Regions from separate parts of the Homo sapiens genome. Here all the other regions are linked to region 3. The links are contacts of gene promoters, found by promoter capture Hi-C in blood cells and fetal thymus (Javierre and others, 2016). All regions are on one chromosome and are shown on one strand. The core of a region is centred on a gene start or on the middle of the fragment in contact, and the rest is flanking DNA. Distances in the headings are between cores, read along the strand shown.

Region 1 (2,750 bases), core at 71-2,570, 790 kb after region 3:
GTGAAATGTGTGCTGAGATTGATATTACCTTCCTGGCCATTCTGAATCTTTGCCCTTTCAACCTTATAAATCACATGACACTTGCTCTTACTCCTTGTTCTTCATGAGCCCTTGACATTCACAGCCTTTGTAAAGCTCCACATTGACAAATACACTAATTTCCCCCTTCACATATACTGTGGAATAACAAAAATGTAGTAAAGCATTCTTTAAGTGGTCCTTTCAAGTACTTGCATTTATAGAATTAAATGCAGAACTAGAACTATTTTTGTCACTGAAATAAACCTGAGGCTACATTACTAAATCTGTTTTATTGTGCAAATAAATGATTATGTAGTCAAAAGTTGTGTATTTTTGCCCCTTACTACTCTGGATTTAGTAAATGATACAGCAAATCTGGCTTAATCATAAACTCTGCTATATGGCCACAGGCAGAAGAGTCAGCCTGTTCTTGGCCACTGTGAATCTGAACTCTCCATCCTCCTTCTTAGATATGAATACTTTTAAAGCAAATTTCTTCCAGTGAAGATGTATTTCATCTACATTGAACCCCTATTGGGCCTATAACTCTTGTCTCCTATAAGCTTCTATAGAGTGTGGTCTGATGCTACTGGTTTTCCCGTTAACAACAACAAAATCACCTTCTCAGAATGTTATTTACTCAGAGTAACGGTTTGTTCCATAGTCCTTCTCCCCGCCTGTTGCTTCATTGAAATGTTTGCAAAGTCTCCTGGCTTTGACTTGAACCACATTTTCACTAAAAGATGTGTTTCTTGAGTATATCACCAGACCACAAGCTAACCACTTGTGAAAGCATTTTCAGCTTTTACTAATTTTCTTTTCTCACTTGAAAACCCATTTTTGCCTTGGTTGGAGCATTCCCCGAAATTGTTTAATGAATCATGTTTTGTAGTTTATGTATCAAACACTTGGTAGACTCCACATCATGTATCTAAGTCTACATACACCCAAGTCAACTCAGAATTCCTCATTTCATTCTTTATCTCTCCCAAACATATTTTAGATCTTTTTACTTTTTCTTCACCTCTATTGCCAGAACTAGTAGCTGGTTTTCTTTTAGATGATATTTCTCCTGCTGATAAAAATGTTTTTATTGGCCAGGCACAGTGGCTCACGCCTGTAATCCCAGCACTTTGGGAGGCCGAGACAGGTGGATCACGAGGTCAGGAGTTAGAGACCAGCCTGGCCAACATGGTGAAACCCCATCTCTACTAAAAACACAAAGATTAGCTGGGCGTAGTGGCGGGCACCTGTAATCCCAGCTACTCAGGAGGCTGAGGCAGGAGAATCGTCTGAACCTGGAAGGCAGAGGTTGCAGTGAGATGAGATCATGCCATTGCACCCTGGCCTGGGCGACAGGGTGAGACTCCGTCTCAAAAAAAAAAAATGTTTTTATCATTTCATGAGTGTCACTATTTACACAATAAAGCTGTGTTGCACTGCATAGGTGACTTACTACTCCCGAAGAATGGGGGAGCTCAAAATCAGTAAACCTCGAACTCATTGCATCCTATGATCCTTTGGATGGCTCCAGAGTGAAAGAAGAGGCAAATACAAAAATTTGAGAATGTGAAGTATCATGTATATTATACATAAATGTACATATAAATCCATACTCTCTCTAGCATTTGTTTGTTTGTTTCTCCCTTAGAGAAGTGGATTAGGCATAAGTTAACTGAATCCTTTTGAAAAGCATTAAAAATATCTACTTGGGTTTTTTAAAGCACATTCTCTAAATGTGAAAAGAGAGATAAAATCTTATAAAAAAGAAAGTTTCTGTTAAGATACAACTGTGGGCTTTTCTACATGTTTCTGTAGACAGTTCAGGCTTCTTTTGACATCATTTTTAATAAACAGCAATACAATCCCGGATCACTTGAGTAAATGAATGCATTTGCAACATTCATTTGGCACCATATTCTCTTGATGATTATGGCATTTGATATGTTCTTTTTTGCCCTCTTTGTCAGCCTGGTTCTTCATGTCAATCTATAGTCTTTTATGTGGTTAACTTGACAGATGCAGGAAATTGCTGCCAAGCTTTGAAATGAATTTTTTCAGCAGTGGCATCTGGGTATCAGATGGTCCTCTTGGCTGGCCTCTTGTCTTGCTGCATGTTGGTTTTAGTGGGGTCTGGTGTAGCATCACCTGTTGCTATGCTCCCTTTTCCTCCCATATGTCCATTTCCTGTGATTCATGGATGAATGTGAGAATAAAAGCTCTAGCTCTGTCTTTATTTGAGAAAAAAATCTACAGAAATATGTTAGAAGGTGTAGAGTTCTCTGTCTGACAAAGGGATACTTCTCTTTGGCTGGCATGCCTATCAGCTAATAATTTTGTTACAAAGTCCAAGTTTTTAAAGACATTTTAAATGAAAGGCAAGAAGGATACTGGTTAGTTAGGGGAAGAGCAAGAACTGCTTTATTTATTTCCTTTGGTTTACATTAAATCAAGATGCTGCCATTGTTGTACAGCATAATTAGGGGAAATTATATTTTTGTTTTTGTTATATATTTATATATTACAAAACTAGCTTTATAAATTTAGAAAAGAAATTATTTCCTCTGAAAGAATTATTTTGCCTACTTCCTGCAATTCAGAATCCCACTGTTTACATTTGTATCATATTTTTAAAACATTCAATAAGAGCTATTGGAAATCACTATCGCGACAAAGATCTCCCTCATATTATTGAGATGTAGTGAATGTGGACTCTGAGAAAGTCCAGG
Region 2 (2,707 bases), core at 62-2,561, 730 kb before region 3:
TGTTTCTCTTAAGTAAATGCTATATATCCCTATTTTTCTACTTTTTATCTTATGTAGTAGTGATTAACAAATAATCAAGTATTGGTTAACAACTACTTTCTCCCGTGCTTCTTTTCCATAAGAACTAGTTAATCTAAACAATTGTATTCATTTATTTTTCTATTAGTCCTACCAGTTCAAAAAGTAAAAATAGTATTTTGGGACCTGTGCCTCTTTATTTATGCACACCTCTAGCTGTGTTTTGATGTTTGAGAAATGTTAATTATTTGAAAGTTCTACACACAAAGCACTGACAGCTTCAAGTGGTAAGCTGAATTTTTAAATGTGAAATGACCCTTAATTCTTTCCTTGCTTATTCTCATTGTAGACAAGTTTTACAACTCTCCTATCTGCTTGACTTTCAGTTGCATGAAATAATGATGGGGCGCTTAGCACCAGGTCCTTTGCATTTTGGTTCCCCATCCCCCTTTCCCTCCTCCAGGGTTACCTGTGATATTGTATATGACTGATATGGACATGACGGTCCCAGCAAGAGAAAGACACTGGATTTTTCCCACTGATAGCTAAGTGTTCTTGCGGGGAGTTGTGTGTGGCAGGAGGAATGGTCTCAGAATCCAAGAATGGCCTGGGTTACCTAGGCAATAGTCTAATAAAATAGTCTAATAAAATTAGACTATTGCCTAGGTAACCCAGGCCATTCTTGGATTTATTAGTTTATTCTGAAAATCTGCTAGAAATCAGATTTTCAGAATAAACTAAGTGGTCCACATTCAAGACAGAATAAAATTCAAGTTTTGAAAGCTTTGGATCCAGACCGAATCAACCTACTAGCCAGATTCTTTTCTGAGGAAGCAAGCATCCCACTATCTTTTGGTACAAAGGTTCTCATTACCTGCAGAAGACATGCTACTTCCTCGTTTCCCACAGCAGTCACAATGCAAATGAGAACAATAAGTATAAATGTTAAGTTATAGAGGCTGGAAGCCAGGAATCTACTGGGAGGCTGTTAAGATAAATGTAGATTAAGCATCTTCTACTTGATACCTTCCAAAGTCTGTTTCATAATCTTAGGCTAAAGAACCAAATCTTTCACATGGCCCACATATCTCTGCAAGACTTGACTCATACTTATTTCTCCAGTACTATCTTGCACTATTGTCTTCCTCACCACTAAGAACCAGGTAATCTGGACTTTCAGTTCCTTATACTTGCAAGGCAACCAATCCAGCAGTATGTTTCACACATGCTATTCTCTATGCATGGAATGCTCCTTCTCTACCTCTTTGCCTAGTTAACTCCAACTTATTCTTCAAGGCTCGGCTTAAATTACTTATACCAGAAAATCTTCCCTCTTAATCCCCAGAATAGGCTGGGTCTTCCTGTTATATAACCCTCATATAGCATACTGTATATCTCCTTTTCTGGACTCACAAAGCTGCAATCTAAATTATTATTTAATGTCCATCCTTTCTGCCTCATTATAAAAGCTCTTTGAGAAACGGGGTTGTGCCTGTTTTGCTCATTGTTTTATCACCAGTGTTTTGTATAGTACAGAATAGGTATTCAATACTATTTATTGAACATGAATCTATTATATTTAAAGAATTTAAAAATGTATGTCTACATATAAACTTGCATATGTTACATTATATTATATGTACTTCTGAAGATACAAAGAAGAATCTGACAGTTTCAGTAAGAAAAAGACATGCACAAATGACCAAGTGGTAAAGCAGACTCTGATCCAGTAATATGAAGAGAACTAAATAACATACCATGGAGAACAGGGAAAAGGGGATTGACTCTAAATGGTGACCATAGGAAGCTTTGTGGAGGAGAATCTGAAAGCGCCTCTAAGAACAGGGAAGATTTATACATACATTTTTCTGGCCCACTAGAAACAGCAATGTTCACAGTGTTTGCCATCCCACTAACATTTTTCTGTTCTTCACTCTTCCTTTTCACTTGGTATTCCCGAATGCCTTCCAAACTCCAGGAAATAAAAGAAACAGTGGTTTAATGGGGGCATTGGCAATGCTTAACTCAAATAAATGACATTTTGACAATAAACTATTAGAACTGTGTGAAAACCGATTTAACTCCTTGCAGCAATAATAGCTTGGCAACTGTGTAAGAACTCAGATTAGGAACTGCAAATCAATTGTCCAAAAGAAGTCTTTTCTTAAATCCAGATATAAGGTATAAGGAATGTAAGATGTTTGGGCGGGGAAAAGGGAGTAAAGGTCACGCAGGCCACCTGGTGGCAATGTGTCAGAGAAGGAGCCAGAGCTTTGGGAAAAGTGAGGCTCACTGCCAACACTGCAGGAAATCTTTGTGACACACTGGTGTGTCATGAAACAATGATTGGGTATCACTAATAACAAGCATTTCACTTAATGGTTTGGAATTCGGATATACTACATAGCCTGCCCAACTACCCAGAACAGAGCAGAATTAGATCTGGGAAATCACCCTAGTTGCCCAATCCTCAGGGAATTCTCATCCTGTTGGATCCAGCAAGCTGAGTTACGAGCTACTCTTCTCTTCTGAGGTTCCTGGCTTCTAGCTAACTGGTCACATCTCCGGGATGAGCACCTACTCTCACTGGTTTTGATACGAATATTAAAAAAAAAAAAAATCTTTAGACTGAGTGAGGTAGCTCACATCTGTGGTCCCAGCACTTTGGGAGGCCAAGACAGGTGGATCG
Region 3 (2,787 bases), core at 284-2,783:
CCTCCCCAAAGAAGTTAACCAGATGGTAAATAAATAGCCATATGAAAAGATCCTCCACGTCATATGTCATCAGGGAAATGCAAATTAAAACAACAATAAAATATGACACACATCTATTAGAATGGCCAAAATCCAGAACACTTACAACACCAAATGCTGGCAAGGATTTGGAGCAACAGGAACTCTTATTCATTCCTGGTGGGAATGCAAAATGGTAGCCACTTTGGAAGACAATTTGGCAATTGCTTACAAAACTAAACATTCTCTTACCTTATGATCCAGCAATCATACTACTTGGTATTTATCCAAAGGAGATGAAAACTTATGTCCGCACAAAAAAACCTGCACACAGATATTTATAACAGCTTTTTTTCATCACACTGGGGTGAGGGATGTTGATAATGGGGAAGGGCTATGCTTGTGTCGGGGCAGAAAGTATATGGAAAATCTCTGGACATTCCTTTCCATTTTGCTGTGAATCTAAAACTGCCCTCAAAAAAAGTTTAAATAATTTTTTTAAAGCAGTACTGTATTGTGATGTTTAACTCAATTACTTATTACAAGAAAACTATTCAACTGGTCAAAACGTTATATATAAGAAGTTTCTGTTTGTTAAAAACATTGTTTCAAATATATTTAGGCTTTGACTTTTAAAAGTATACAGCAACATTCAAGATAACTAGACAGAATGCACTGCAACTTGGCAGGTTTTTAAATCCTTGGACTTACTGGCCTAAGGAAAGATGTGTAAACATCCATGATTCAGAAATACAGGGAGAAATTGGGGCAGCCAGACCTCATCCTCTTGCCCTAAAGGGAAAAGATATCTTTCTTGCGGTATCTAAGATATGAATCTTAGATAATATTCATGCATGGCTAGGAATTGGAATAATGGGAAAGTCTTAATTCATGGGAAATTTTCTAATAAAGTTCCACCTCCATTTCCAGCCATTCCTCTTTAACAAATACATTTAGTGAAAAATACTACCAGTTGGGGAGAAACCAAATGGGTATGTGTATATGTAGTGTTTCTCAGAGTGTGGACTTTAACCACGTTTAATTACATAAATTTACGAGGATCTGTTGAAAATGCAGGTTCCTGGGCTTCACTCCAGTTGCTCTGAAATGAAAGCTGTAGGAGTCGGTTGGTGAAACTACATTTTGTTTCTCAGGTGATTCTTGTGTACTCTAACTCATATATAGGGTGATGTTATTTATTTACTGGTTATTTATTTACCGGTTATTTATCGTTTGGCAAAAAAATCCAGCAAAGACTCACAAGTGACCTTTACACTTGACATAGGATTCTCTTCCGCTGCTGACGCTTTTTTTTTCTAAGAGGCGGGGACTTGGCTGGGCAGGGCTGGGGGAGGGCGCTAGGCGGGGCGGGCAGGGGCGGGGCAGAAGAGCCCTGGGCTGGGTGGGGCAGGGCGGAAGGGCCCTGGCCTTGTTGGGTGGAGGTGAAGAGTTAATGGCTCCGCGCGCAGGCACTGCCCTCTGAACTGGAACAAAATGCAACTTCCGGTTGGAGTCACTCGGCCAGGCGCCGGCGACCTGAGGGGAGAGGGAACGCAGCTGAAAGCGTGAACTGTGTGAGTAAGAAACTTTGTGAATTGGTGTGTCCGAATCCGTCAAGCACGACGTCGGAGAATTTGTATGCGTGAGCGAGAGGGACGCGCTGACAGTAGGGGCGCCGCAGGGAGAGAAGCCGAGGAGCAGCGGAGACAACCAATTTGCAGTTTGGGGAGGGATTTTGTGCGGGAGAAACCACGCGAGTCCTTCCCCCGGAGCGGACTCCTTGTGGGTTGGTTTCCGGGCCCGCGATGTCAGCATAGCATCGTCGGCCTCTGCCCCAACGGCTTCAAGGGAGGGACTCGTCCCGGCTGCTTTGCCCGGGAAATGGGGGTGGAAGGGCCTGCGGTGTCGAGGTGAGCAGTGGACCCTCCAGGAACATTCCCGACTTCCCTTCGGGAGAGAGACTGCCTCCTAGAATCAAGTAGTATCGTGGTTACTCTTTCGAAAACTTAATTGGTTCTTTCTGTTGTTTTCCCAAGGTGGTTGCACAATTCCCCTCTGCCTTCCTGTGGGGTGTCATCATAGCCTGGTCAATGAGAAGTTGGGTAACTTCCCAGAGGGTCACGGAGGGAGTGGGTGGCCAAGGCAGGAAGAACAGAAGCCAACCCCGCCCACAGTGGGAACCCAGGCGTTAGGTAGAGTCCTCACGCCGGTGTAAACTGACTAGCAACGAGTTACAGGCAAAAAAGCTGTGCTTTTCTAGAAGTAGAAAGGGGGAGGATAATCAAAGAAGAGCTGTGCCTTTATTGTTATGCTATAACGAGCAAAAGTAAAGCAGCCTTGCTATGTAAAGTGGTGTTTATCTCACCTCACAGGAGATGCTTTTGACAAGTTATAATAAGGGAGAGATGGTAGTAAAGGAAGTGAAGAAGCGACGTGAAATTGAAGGAAAAGAAAATGACCTGCCTTCTTACCGCGGTTGGAATACACACCCAAACGAGAGGTAGCAGAGAAGCAAGCAGTGCATTCTGTTAAAAATTATTGTGTCCTCATTTGAGAGAGGAGGGATCCTCAAATAATACAACTATGTGCAAAGCAGGAAGTGAAATCCTTCTCAGTCCTCTCCCCAGTTGTAATCCAAGCCTTCCACATCTTTCCTGTATGTGCATAACCATGTTATTTTGCTTTCTTATGAAAATGAGATTATGCATACTGTTCGATAATCTGTTTCAGATTAAATATATATATATGGTGAAAGTCTTGCCATATGTA
Region 4 (2,700 bases), core at 196-2,695, 780 kb before region 3:
GTGCCACTGCACTCCAGCCTGGGTAACAGAGCGAGACCTTGTCTCAAAAACAAAAACAAACAAACAAACAAAAACAATAAAAGGAATGGCAAATCTGAAAGAAAGGTGGGTAGAGTAAGAAGAGGAGTGACCAACAAGGACATAGACTGGAAGGATCATTCTTCACAAAAGCCAGAGAATTACCCTGGTTGGTTCAGAGGAAGCTCCCACAAGTTGATGTTGGGGTAGGAGTGTGGTGGTACTAAAAAGGTAGTAGGAAGAACCTAAAAAGCAAGGTGGAATGTGGACATGATGTCACAGGTTACCAGAATCTCACATGTAGAAAAGAATTTAAACACAGTAAATGAAGAGCATGGCTTCTGGAGAATGCAAAACTAGAAAAACACTTCCCTTCCTTCTATAAAAATAATGTTTATAACAATAATAATAAAAAAAATTGGCTGGGCACGGTGGCTCATGCCTGTAATCCTAGTACTTTGGGAGGCCAAGGCAGGTGGATCACCTGAGGTCGGGAGTTCGAGACCAGCCTGACCAATATGGTGAAACCCTGTCTCTACTAAAAATGCAAAAATTAGCCAGGTGTGGTGGTGGGCGCCTGTCATCCCAGCTACTTGGGAGGCTGAGGCAGGAAAATCATCTGAACCCAGGAGGCAGAGGTTATAGTGAGCTGAGATTGCACCATTGCACTCCAGCCTGGGCAACAAGAGTGAAACTACATCTCGGGCGGGGGACGGTGGGGGGGAGGAATTGAACGGAAAAGTTAGAATATCCAGATTCAAGTTTTGTCCTGGCCAGGAGCAGGAATGAGTATTATCCCTGGAAGGCTCAGGTCTTCACGTGTGAAATAAGCAGGTTAGCCTGGATGATTTCTAAGCTTCCTTCCAGCTCCAAAATACTCTAAAATTCTGGATAGTGCTGGACAGTGCCATCTCCAGATAAGACATATCAAGACAGAGCCCAGTCAGGACCTTTAGTACTCTTGTCTGTCTGCCAAATAGAGAAATGGAGCAAGAGTTTGTTAAACTGGCAGACTCCAAGGCCAACTTCTGTGACATCGTGCAACTTAAGACCAACAGACATCATACTGCGGCACCATTTTCCTATGCCCCTTAGGCCAGCATGGATTCCCGACTTAGTCATAAGTGATTCTAAGAAAATATTCTAAATATGTAAGCTATCCTAAAACAACAACTGAAGCCTAAAGGAACAAATGTAAAACAAAAAACAATCTTAAAGAGCTCCTGAAACCAGAGTATCCTTAAGGTAGAAACAATATTACAGCTGAAATAACCATAGTAACTTAAGATCTATAGAGACTGTATGTTACTTAGCAGCCTGCCATCTTTGTGTTTCAACGTGTAATCAGTATAAAGAGTTACATTTCACATTCTATTCAATCTCTTCTATATAAAAGGACCCTGTAACAGCTCCAAAACCACTTTAAAAGAAAATTCAACACAATAAATAAATTACAGCCCAAACAAACAGTAATTAGAACGCAGTAAACACAAAATCCCACCCAACTTCAGGTGCAAAATTAATTATTCTTCTGAATTCTGAATGCAGGTGTGCAGTGTTTTCCTCCTCCTTGAATTTCCAGATCCATGCCAGTTTTCTTCCTCAACACAGAGCCTTGTGAAGGGGACAAGAGCAAACTCTTCCTTTACTTTTTACTCAAAATAAATGGAAAAAAAAAAAAAAAGAAAGAAAACTTCCTAGGGGAAGTGAAACATTACTTTTATCATGACAGTTCAGAATACCTCTGCAATGCATTTCCTGCCTCACCCCAGTAGATTTAGGATTCCAGGGCTGACAACTTCCTCCCAGCTGTTTTTTAAAGTCTATCTACAGTACAGTCTGTATCTTAGTATTTCTTGTAAGTAATGAATTACCGCTGAGATTGTAAAGTCCTCAGGGTGGAAAATACCCATTCAAAAACATACTTTCTCCACATTAAACAAACTTACTGAAAGTATTATTAGGTGATTAAATATTAAGTTAGAAAACTTATATGAGTAAGCTTATAAAAAAAATACTCCCACAAAACCAACTTATTTATTTATTCTTAGATCCAGCGGGACATGTGAATGACCTTGCAGTACCATGGGTTTCACAATTTAGCCCCTAGAGAAAAAAGCATTATCTGTACTTACAGGAAACTGAACAAGTATTTGCAATCTCCCCATAATAATAACTTAAAAACATAAAATCTTATCTGACAATGTTGTAATTTTGTGTATAAACATCACTGAGAAAATTTTTTGAATTAATATAACTCAACAATACTGTCTACTTTTGTTTCTTTCTCATGGTAAAATCTAGTAGCTTATATCTGATATGAATAATTAGAGAAAGTGAGTGATACTAGAACAGCTCTTCTATTATATATCAGTCTATGTATTTCTTTTTTTTATTTTTTAATTTATCTTATTTTATTTTTTTAAGAGACAGAGTCTCGCTCTGCCTCATGGGCTGGAATGCAGTAGTGCAATCATGGCTCACCACACCCTCAAACTCCTGGGCTCAAGTAATCCTCCTGTCACAGCCTCCCACGTAGCTGGGACAATAGGAGCATGCCATCGCGTCTGGCTAATCAAATAAATAAATAAATAAATAAATAAAAACTTTCTTTGTAGAGACTGGATCTTACTTTATTGCCTGTGTTGCCCAGGCTGCTCTTGAACTCAGCTTCAAGAGATC
Region 5 (2,700 bases), core at 131-2,630, 880 kb before region 3:
AATGTGTGATTTTAGAAGATCTCTCCTCAAAGGACCTCATTATTTTCTAGCAGCCCCCTAAACTAGTACCTAGTATTGTTTCTACAGGTAGAGCCCACAGGGGTAAGACTTATTAGACCTCTAACAGGTCACTGCAGATTAGGCAGCAGAGCCTGGCTTTTCTGACACTGACAGTCATCCTTTCCCAAAGGCAGGAGAAATTTCTAGTCAGTCTCATTGGATATGTGTGGCCCTGGCTTAGCCTTCACAAGAAACAGCTGTAGGTTTTGAGTGTATAAGGGGAAAACGCACCACCCTTTGTTCTTTTAAGCCACTATAGAATAGAGGCTAAATTAAAATCCTTTAGCCATCTTACCAGCAAAATGCTAAGCATCAAATCTGGAAGCTGATCTGGTGCCAGCTCAACCTCATTACCCAAAGGAGTCCCCTGGACTTTGGTGAAATATTTCAATATTAAGACCATGATTCAATACTCCCAAACTCCATAAAAGAAGAAATAAGCGAGAAATAATTCCCTGCTTTTACCATCTTGTATTACCTTCGTCTTTCGCTTCATGACACTGCCACAGGGACAGTGGTACTAGTTATATAGATGACACTAGTCATAAAAGGCTAGATGTGGTCACGTGTGGGTGCTATATTCTCGTAAAGGAGAGATACCCAGAGAATAGACTTTCAGTTCATCAATTAATTAAGAAATAGCTGAGTATTTACTTTATGGAAGGTCATGTGGGGGGAAGAGAGGGGATTAGACATAATCTGTTATCATAGAGGCTGTCATTTGATAGGGAAGATACAGGCTGCATTAATTTACCCTCCTCTGTTTACAGAGACACATGATAATTATTTGCCACCTACTGTTCCGGTGCTGCCTAGTGACAGATGACTCATCTGCTGGGCCAGAGGGCTGATCATTGATGCGGGCTGTAGTGACATGGTGTGCTCCATTGAGGGAGTTAACACGGCACCCTGGGGAGTTGGAGACAGGAGCAAAATTAGACAAACTGAGGCAAGAGTTAAGATCCTGTAATTACTTTTTACAAAGGAAATACCTTAGTTTGTTTAAGAATGTGAAGCAAAAACAACCTTCCTCAATCTTGCAAATGGCATCATAAACAGTTTCCTAAAAATCTTCTAAATTGCTCTTCCTGAGAGTTTTTTAAGAGCGTTAGGGGAAATGATATCTTGGCATTCACTTCACAACAATCCCTGTATTAAAGCCAGTGTCCCTCTTCTCCTTCCCTTTCCCTTCACTTCCAGTAACTGGAAGCAAGCTAGTCCAGCAGGAGGAGCTATCATAGGAAAAACAAACTGATTATCACTGCCTGCCTAGGGTTACAAAACGCTTTCTTAAAAAAAAATCTGGAAAAAAAAGGCAGTTGATGTTTTCTCCAGTCACCAAACAATGTATTATATTTAATAAGATCAATATAGTATTTTGTTTAACAATGTTCTATCCAGATAATCGTCTGGTTCAAGATCAGGTTGTTAGGATCAAGAGCACATTTCTTCATTCACTCAGTGTTTCTCAGAACTTTAAGTTACATTTTGGTGCCTGGGAGGGAAGGCAATTCAGATATGATTAATAATCTGAGTCCAGATTCTTTTATTTAATTTGAAAAAATGTTAGTCATTAAAATCAAATTAAATATATTTAGGAAAATAGGAGGGAAAAAAAAAACAATTGCTTCTAACTCAGCCAGTCTAATACAACCACTGTTAGCAATGTCAGGGTACTACTGCCAGATCATAGCCTCTGTGTGTTTCTGTACAGGTTCAATCAGAGCACATCAACAACTTCATATCCTGGGATTTTGCTCTTAACTTTGCATTCTATTCTAACCATTTACCTAGCTTGTTGAAAAACTATCATTATCATCATTTTTTTAAATGGTTACATTGATTGTATAAACCAAAATTCAATGAACTCTTTATTTTTGGACTTTTGCAATCACCTCATTATCTGAGAATGCAAGTATTCTGACACGCTCTGTAACTACTAATGTATGTTTTGTTATCACTGTACCTGGCATCCCTTAAATACAACTGTTATTTATTGATAATTAGATAGACAATCTAGGACAGAGTTAGGTGTACAGGAACTTTAATTCTGATGTAAATCAGGCAGTTTAAAGCTGGGTGGGGAAAGGTAATGAATCCTCAGATAGCAACCTTCTGCTTACATTCCTAATGTCTCCTCAAAGATGTTAAGCTCAGATACGTGCAGTCTTTTTCTCAAATGTTGCCAAAAAGAAAAAAAGATATAGATGTGTGTCAGAGATAATGTTTGTCATTAATACATTCTGTTAGAAATTTTTTTTTTAACATGCATCATCAAAAAGCAAGTGGTAACACGGAAATGACTCAGAAGCCTAGAAGATGGTGGAGCAGTTTCCTGCTCCTTTTTCTCATTCATTGGCACCATCTGTAATAGGAAGTCCTCAAATTCAAAGCAAGCTGATTTCCAAGCATTCCAAAATAGGGTAGCATGGAGTATCAGGGACACAGATTGCTATGGGCATGTGTGGATCAGTGCATGTATATTATGTACACATGTACAGGTAAGTGTGGGTTTGAAGATGTGTCTATGTATGTGCACATGTATAGATCTATATGTATGTGTATATATCACACAAAACGTATACATATATCAGAGCGCGCCTCTCCTATTTCATCACCTAAACATGTTTTATCTGCTTC

The links. The method cuts DNA at HindIII sites, captures the fragments that hold promoters and counts their contacts. A CHiCAGO score of 5 or more calls a contact.
Region 1: a fragment that was not itself captured here is called in contact with the fragment with the promoter of TANK in region 3 in 2 of 17 cell types (non-activated CD4 T cells and naive CD4 T cells); the score reaches 5.3 in non-activated CD4 T cells.
Region 2: a contact is called between a fragment that was not itself captured here and the fragment with the promoter of TANK in region 3, in 1 of 17 cell types (total B cells). The highest score is 5.4, in total B cells.
Region 4: a contact is called between a fragment that was not itself captured here and the fragment with the promoter of TANK in region 3, in 4 of 17 cell types (total B cells, neutrophils, naive B cells and 1 more). The highest score is 9.7, in total B cells.
Region 5: a contact is called between a fragment that was not itself captured here and the fragment with the promoter of TANK in region 3, in 1 of 17 cell types (naive CD8 T cells). The highest score is 5.5, in naive CD8 T cells.

The regions. Positions count from the first base shown.
Region 1 is chr2:161,952,212-161,954,961 of GRCh38, forward strand. The region is part of intron 19 of SLC4A10 (solute carrier family 4 member 10); the gene reads left to right. Among named protein-coding and RNA genes, the nearest start is that of DPP4, 120 kb to the right of the region's middle. The HindIII fragment of the contact is 1,477 bases long and covers 583-2,059 here.
Region 2 is chr2:160,430,488-160,433,194 of GRCh38, forward strand. The region is part of intron 1 of RBMS1 (RNA binding motif single stranded interacting protein 1); the gene reads right to left. Among named protein-coding and RNA genes, the nearest start is that of MIR4785, 24 kb to the left of the region's middle. The HindIII fragment of the contact is 1,024 bases long and covers 800-1,823 here.
Region 3 is chr2:161,158,895-161,161,681 of GRCh38, forward strand. TANK (TRAF family member associated NFKB activator) reads left to right here and starts at 1,534. Exons shown (of 8, transcript NM_001199135.3): 1 at 1,534-1,592. TANK-AS1 (TANK antisense RNA 1) reads right to left here and starts at 1,396. Exons shown (of 3, transcript NR_187173.1): 1 at 1,238-1,396; 2 at 271-342. RefSeq lists an enhancer at 1,244-2,007. The HindIII fragment of the contact is 6,780 bases long and covers 1-2,787 here.
Region 4 is chr2:160,374,210-160,376,909 of GRCh38, forward strand. The region is part of intron 1 of RBMS1 (RNA binding motif single stranded interacting protein 1); the gene reads right to left. Among named protein-coding and RNA genes, the nearest start is that of MIR4785, 32 kb to the right of the region's middle. The HindIII fragment of the contact is 1,146 bases long and covers 873-2,018 here.
Region 5 is chr2:160,277,690-160,280,389 of GRCh38, forward strand. RBMS1 (RNA binding motif single stranded interacting protein 1) reads right to left here. Exons shown (of 14, transcript NM_016836.4): 11 at 859-969. Among named protein-coding and RNA genes, the nearest start is that of LINC02478, 7.1 kb to the left of the region's middle. The HindIII fragment of the contact is 3,110 bases long and covers 1-2,700 here.